Regions from separate parts of the Homo sapiens genome. Here region 2 is linked to region 1. The links are contacts of gene promoters, found by promoter capture Hi-C in human tissues and cell types (Jung and others, 2019). All regions are on one chromosome and are shown on one strand. Each heading gives the region's core, a stretch centred on a gene start or on the middle of the fragment in contact. The rest is flanking DNA. Distances are from core to core; before and after follow the strand shown.

Region 1 (3,716 bases), core at 600-3,099:
GCAGTGATCCAAGATCACGCCACTGCACTCCTGCCTGGGCAACACGGCGAGATTCTGTCTCGAAAAGATAAAGTGTATATATAATTCAATGGTTTGTAGTATATTCACCAAGTTGTGTAGCCATCACCATTATCTAATTCTAGACCTAGTTTTTTCTTTTTTCGAAATGGAGTCTCTCTCTGTCACCCAGGCTACAGTGCAGTGGCACCATCTCGGCTCACTGCAGCCTCTGCCTCCAGAGTTCAAGGGATCCTCCTGCATCAGCCTGTGGGGACTATAGGTGCATGGCACTTTGCCTGGCTAATTTTTGTATTTTTTGTAGAGACAGGGTTTTGCCATGTTGCCCAGGCTTGTCTGAAACTCCTGACCTCAGGTGATCTGCCCACCTTGGCCTTCCAAAGTGCTGGGATTACGGCACCCAGCCAACCAATTTCATCACTCCCAAAAAAGAAACGCCATACCCATTAGCAGTCACTCCCCATTCCCCTCCCCCAGCCCCTGGCAACTAGTCATAAAGTTTCTCTGGCTCTATAGATTTGTCTCTTCTGGATATTTCACATAAGTGGAATTGTCCAACATGTGGCCATTCATGACTGGCTTCTCTCAGCATAATGCTTTCAAGATTGATGTTGCAGCGTATCATCAGCACTTTATTTTTATGGCCCCATAACATTCCATTATATAGATGTGGTGTTTCCTCCTGCCAAACAGGGCTGGTTGGGATTCCAAAGAAGCACTATGGCCGGGCGCAGTGGCTCATGCCTGTAATCCCAACGCTTTGGGAGGTCGAGGTGGGTGGATCAACTGAGGTCAGGAGTTCGAGACCAGCCTGACCAACATGGTGAAACCCCGCCTCTGCTAAAAATACAAAATAGCTGGGCGTGGTGGCTGGCGCGTGTAGTCCCAGCTACACGGGGAGCTGAGGCAGGAGAATCGCTTGAACCCGGGAGGCGGAGGTTGCAGTGAGCCGAGATCGAGCCACTGTACTCCAGCCTGGGGGACAGAGCAAGACTCTGTCTCAAAAAAGCAGCATTAAACCCAAAACATTTATTAGGGAAGCTTACAGAGTGGGCTGCAGCAATTCTCGCGACAGACAGAGAGAAGCGGTGTTTCACCTAGGTACATCCCCAGCGAGGGGTCAGGGTATGAAGTTTATATGAGGGTTTATGGAATTTGGCTAAAAGCAGGGGTCAGTTTCAGCGTTTTGGGCAATAACCTAGATATCCTTAGTGCCTAGGGATATGCAAGGCCCGTGTTTGGTTGCAAGTCTGCAGGAAAAAACTTGCAGCTGGCTGGGTCACAGGGCGGTCAAGGCACTCTGATACTTGGTCAGTGCACAGAAAGCGGGGGAACTCGGGAACCGCGCACATAGTACTATATTTTATTTATCCATTCACCAATGGATGGACGTTTGGGTTGCTTTCACTTTTTGGCTATTATGAATAACACTGCTGTGAACATTCATGGACAAGTTTTTATATATACATAGGTTTCATTTCTTTGGCGTATTTTATATATATATATATATTTACCTAGGAGAATTGCTGGGTCAAATGGTAATTGTTTAACCTTTTGAGGAACTGCCAGACTGTCTTCCACAGCAGGTGCTTCATTTTACAGTCCCATGAGCAGTGTATGAGGGTTCCAGTTTCTGCACAGTCTCAAGGCACAGACAAATTTTCAGCAGCCCCGGGGATTGGGAGCGGTGGTTACCTCTGCGGAACGTGCCCCGACAGCCAAGCCCTGCGCGCAGGCGCACTGGTGGGAGGGCGGGAACGCGGGAGCGTCGCCGGAGGTGGGGCGTGCAGGCGTTAGGGGCGGGGCTGTGCTGCGCGCGCGTCCCGGAAGCAGAAGCCTGTGTGGCCTTCCCGGCGGCTGATTCGAGGGCTTGTTTGGTCAGAAGGGGGGCGTCAGAGAAGCTGCCCCTTAGCCAACCATGCCGTCTGAGGGTCGCTGCTGGGAGACCTTGAAGGCCCTACGCAGTTCCGACAAAGGTCGCCTTTGCTACTACCGCGACTGGCTGCTGCGGCGCGAGGTGAGCGGTGGCCCCGGAGGACGTAGGCCTTTCCGGCCCCTCGCGACCGAAACCTTCTCCCTAGCCGTTGGCACGTTCTGCTCCCGGGAACCCGTGCAGTCTAACAACCTGCATTTATTTCTTGACTTCTGTGTGTACATCCCTCTGTCCTGGGGTTTCTGTCCTCTTCAGCCTATTTTAGCGTTTCGGGGAGCTCCCCTGACTTCACAGGTGCCCCGCGCTCTGAAGGCTTCATTGCTACCCTCCGCCAGTTGGGCGCCTTCTCCGTTCTGCTGTTGTCAAAGCAATCTCGGCCCCAGGTTCAGTTAACTTACTGTATGTCTCATGTGCTGGGAGCTCTAGAGTTTGCGACGAACGATTGACACGACCTAATCCATTGCTACTAGTGAAATGACCAAATTTTTAGATTGATTTGGCAGACCTGGAAAGTGAATGGGGGCGTGGTCACCGTACCTAGCATTTGCAAAGCTCTGCGCGAGAAGTGGAGGGATGTGGAGAGTTAAGGCCGAGCTCCCATTCCCGAGTCGCTGCTAGTTAGCTACAGATAAGGCGTTGTCCTGCATCCTCAGACTTCTTGGGAAACAATCCTAAAGTATTTCCCTGTCTTTTATGTTGTTGACAGTTTTGAAAAATACAGACCTTACATTCTGTAGGTTGACTGCCAGCATATGTGCTTTCAAACCACCAGACCAAGGTTAAGCATTCTTGGCAGGAATACCACAGAAATGATGCCATGGCTTTCTCAGTAAGTCACATGAGGAGGCACACAGATGTCAACCCATCCCAACACTGGTGATGCTAATCTTGATCACCTGGTTACGTTATTATCTGCCTGGTCTCTCCGTTTAAAATTCGTCATTTTTCCCTTAGTAATTGTTGGGAAGTAATAATACCAGTATCCTTTTTTCTGGGCAAACCTTAATCCTCCATGGCTTTAGCATTCATTGATGTTTTCCACATGAATCGATACCTCTATGACGTTGCCAGATCCTGTTTCTTTATATCCGCTATTCCTTCTGCATTTGTTAGTTGGCATTCTACTGTAAGGAGGTGCTTTCTATTTTATTCAGTGAGTTGTAATCCATTACTTTTATTATTTATTTATTTTATTTTAAATGTCCCAGATTTTGTAAGCTTGTATCAAAATAATCACATGCAAGGCTAGGCGTGGTGGCTCAGGCCCGTAATCCCAGCACGTTGGGAGGCCGAGGGGGACGGATCACTTGAGGTCAAGAGTTCGCGACCAGCCTGGCCAACATGGTGAAACCGCATCTCTACTAAAAATACAAAATTAGCCGAGCATGGTGGTGCATGCCTGTAATCCCAGCTACTCGGGAGACTGAGGCATGAGAATTGCTTGAACCCTGGAAGCAGAGGTTGCAGTGAGCCGAGATTGTGCTGCTGCACTCAAGCCTGGGTGACAGAGTGAGACTGTGTCTCAAAAAAAAAAATGTAGCCTTGTAAATATGTACAACAATTATGTATTCATAAGAATTAAAAAGAAAAATGTCCCAGATTTGGCTACTGGGCACCTCATTAAGTTGGTTCCTGTGTTCCTGTGACATATTTCCATCTTTCATTGACATTTCTTTACTTTTTGACACAAAAAGATGTCCCAGGTGCAAGTTTCCCTGTCTTAATCCTGGAATCAGCTATTTCTCCAAAGAGGCTGACTCTTTTG
Region 2 (3,178 bases), core at 679-3,178, 190 kb after region 1:
TTTCAAAGACTGAAAATTGTCTGAATTGCAGTGTAGGTCTTCTGATGGTTTAGCAGTGTGGCATCAGTGGTTGCTCTAACTTGCCTTACAACTTTGTTATGGATTAGCCACTTTATTTAGAAATCGCGCTTGAGGGAAACAATTGAAATTGGACTGGAAATGGAGTGGGCGAAGTAAATACACACGTTACCAGAGTGTTGAGTTTGGGCACTCTTAACAGTCATTATTACTCAGTGTTTATTGATAAATCAGACAAAATTGCCATCTTAGTTTTGAGTGTCTAAATTAGGTGATAATGGTTATTATAATTTGGTTATTTTGCATGACTCAAGCTAGTAAGTAAATACACTCTGTAATCTCAACCAATTTTTTAATTTGTTAAATACTATCATTGTCAACATCTCTTTTCATTTGCTTCAGACTTAATGAACAAGCCAGTGAGGAGATTTTGAAAGTAGAACAGAAATATAACAAACTCCGCCAACCATTTTTTCAGAAGAGGTCAGAATTGATCGCCAAAATCCCAAATTTTTGGGTAACAACATTTGTCAACCATCCACAAGGTATGTTTTGGACAGGGCATTGTTAAAGGATAAACAGTGTTTGTTAGAATGGAGGAAGCTTGGTGAAGACTTAGTCCAGCATGCTGGGTTGCGTGCAACAAAGACAGGCTGGGTGCGGTGGCGCACCTGTAATCCCAGCACTTTGGGAGGCCGAGGTGGGTGGATCACTTGAGGTCAGGGGTTCGAAACCAGCTTGGCCAACAGGTTGAAACCCCGTCTCTACTAAAAATACAAAAAAAATTAGCTGGGCGTGGTGGCGCGCGCTTGTAATCCCAGCTACTCGCTACTTGGGAGGCTGAGGCAGGAGAATCGCTTGAACCCAGGAGGGGGAGGTTGCAGTGAGCCGAGATTGTGCGCTTTTGCATTCCAGCCTGGGCGACAAGAGTGAGACTGTTTCAAAAAAAAAAAAAAAAAAAAAAAAACCTCAAAGACGGGAAAAGATATACAGCTACTGCTTTCTATTCTGTTTAGGAGAAGCTATATTCTAATTGCTTGATGAAAGATAGTGACAGTCTGATATTGAGCAATTGCCTTTAGTTAATAATGGGTTTATAAAACCAAAGATGCTCACTAAGTTCGGAAAAATTTTAAAGGGATCACTTAAATTGTTGTTAGTGTGTGCCTGTTGAAAATTCAGCTGACCTGTAATTTTCTGGCCTAGTGTCTGCACTGCTTGGGGAGGAAGATGAAGAGGCACTGCATTATTTGACCAGAGTTGAAGTGACAGAATTTGAAGATATTAAATCAGGTTACAGAATAGATTTTGTAAGTATCTCTAACTTAATCTTGTTTGCCACTGTGGAAATTAATGTGAGCTTTGGTTGGAAGACCTGTTCATATTTCTAATCTTTCAATTATTTATTACAGTATTTTGATGAAAATCCTTACTTTGAAAATAAAGTTCTCTCCAAAGAATTTCATCTGAATGAGAGTGGTGATCCATCTTCGAAGTCCACCGAAATCAAATGGAAATCTGGAAAGGTATGTTTTGAGGAATTATTTGACAAAAATAGCATTTTGCCTATTTCAGTTTAGTTTTAACCACTTACAAGTGCTTGATACTTTGGTCATGTGGCTAAATACAAAACCTTAAAATATAAAACGTTCCAGTGTGCTGAAGCCAAGTATTACAGTAGTTTAGGGTTCTCATTAGATACTACAGATGTAGGCAGGAAGATCTCTTGAGCCTAGGAGTTTACCCTGGGCAACATAGACCCTTACCTTCCAAAAAACAAAAAAAAAGAGAAAAATCTAGCCCAAGTTTAAGAATTGAGAACTGGACTAAATTTTTTGTTGCTGTTGTTTTCTGCAGTGGTGACTGAGCTCTTCAAATGGCTTGCCATTTCTCAAAATCATTTACATCCGTATTTAGGTAGTAAGACATAGTTTAGATATTTATACTGTGTTGTGCTAGTGGCTGTTAACAGTGGAACTAATTTTATGGAAAACCAAATGTAGTTGATACTACCTCTACCTGCTGCACAGTTTTATAATTGCTCTTAGGTAATAATGGTAGCGTAGATAGTATACTGATATTTGTTTTGCTTAGCTTTTGGGGAAAATCTTATTTTTTAAATTATAGGGAGTTTGGGTGTTATGGAGAGATTGTATCAAAAGCTCTTCCGGTATTCATTTAGGATTTGACGAAACGTTCGAGTCAAACGCAGAATAAAGCCAGCAGGAAGAGGCAGCATGAGGAACCAGAGAGCTTCTTTACCTGGTTTACTGACCATTCTGATGCAGGTGCTGATGAGTTAGGAGAGGTCATCAAAGATGATATTTGGCCAAACCCATTACAGTACTACTTGGTGAGTTCTAATACTCATTTATTCAAGGTTGGACTTGTCTCGGTTGTTTAAAAATGAGTCCTTATATTGTGCTTTTTTTTTTTTAAGGTTCCCGATATGGATGATGAAGAAGGAGAAGGAGAAGAAGATGATGATGATGATGAAGAGGAGGAAGGATTAGAAGATATTGACGAAGAAGGGGATGAGGATGAAGGTGAAGAAGATGAAGATGATGATGAAGGGGAGGAAGGAGAGGTAAAAGAAAATTTGGCTAAACCCACAAAGATAACTTTTAAAGAATTCATGTTATTTTGGGGTGTATATATATATATATAGTGTGGTAGAACTGACCAGAACTGATTGTGGAAAAAAAGTAAGCCATTTTGTTGTTCAAGAATTAAGGAAATGTTTGATAAGCACATGGTACTAATGTTTAACTAGGTTTTTTTTGGTTTTTTTTTGGGTTTTTTTGGTTAGACTTATCACCACCCAAGCTTGTTTTTCCCTAGCCAGTACTTAGGCAATATAGGCAGTGTAGCTGGTCAAATTCTGACATCTCTGAAATAACAAAGTTTCATGTATTTTCGACAAACTGCACAATTTCTGAATAGTCAAATTAGGATAGGTTGGTTTTATTTCGGATTATTTGATCCGAAATATACCTGATTTGGTTAGAACTGAAGTTACTAATTAATCTGAAGCAACATCATCACGGGTGTTTCCTTCGATGCAGCTGACTTACAGGTTTAGAAACTGGAGTGCCCCCAGGGGCACTCGTGGGGTCCATTGTGGTCCATATGAAAGCAAGTCTCAGCATTAATCCTGAAG

The links. The method cuts DNA at HindIII sites, captures the fragments that hold promoters and counts their contacts. A contact is called where the count stands out against the background at its distance.
Region 2: a fragment that was not itself captured here is called in contact with the fragment with the promoter of GLE1 in region 1 in 2 of the 25 tissues and cell types used here (dorsolateral prefrontal cortex and heart right ventricle).

Annotation. Positions count from the first base shown.
Region 1 is chr9:128,502,870-128,506,585 of GRCh38, forward strand. GLE1 (GLE1 RNA export mediator) reads left to right here and starts at 1,850. Exons shown (of 16, transcript NM_001003722.2): 1 at 1,850-2,035. The coding sequence starts at 1,937. RefSeq lists a silencer at 1,661-1,870 and an enhancer at 2,091-2,250. The HindIII fragment of the contact is 8,169 bases long and covers 1-3,716 here.
Region 2 is chr9:128,691,438-128,694,615 of GRCh38, forward strand. SET (SET nuclear proto-oncogene) reads left to right here. Exons shown (of 8, transcript NM_003011.4): 3 at 421-563; 4 at 1,225-1,328; 5 at 1,431-1,544; 6 at 2,201-2,371; 7 at 2,459-2,605. Among named protein-coding and RNA genes, the nearest start is that of SET, 3.8 kb to the left of the region's middle. The HindIII fragment of the contact is 6,023 bases long and covers 1-3,178 here.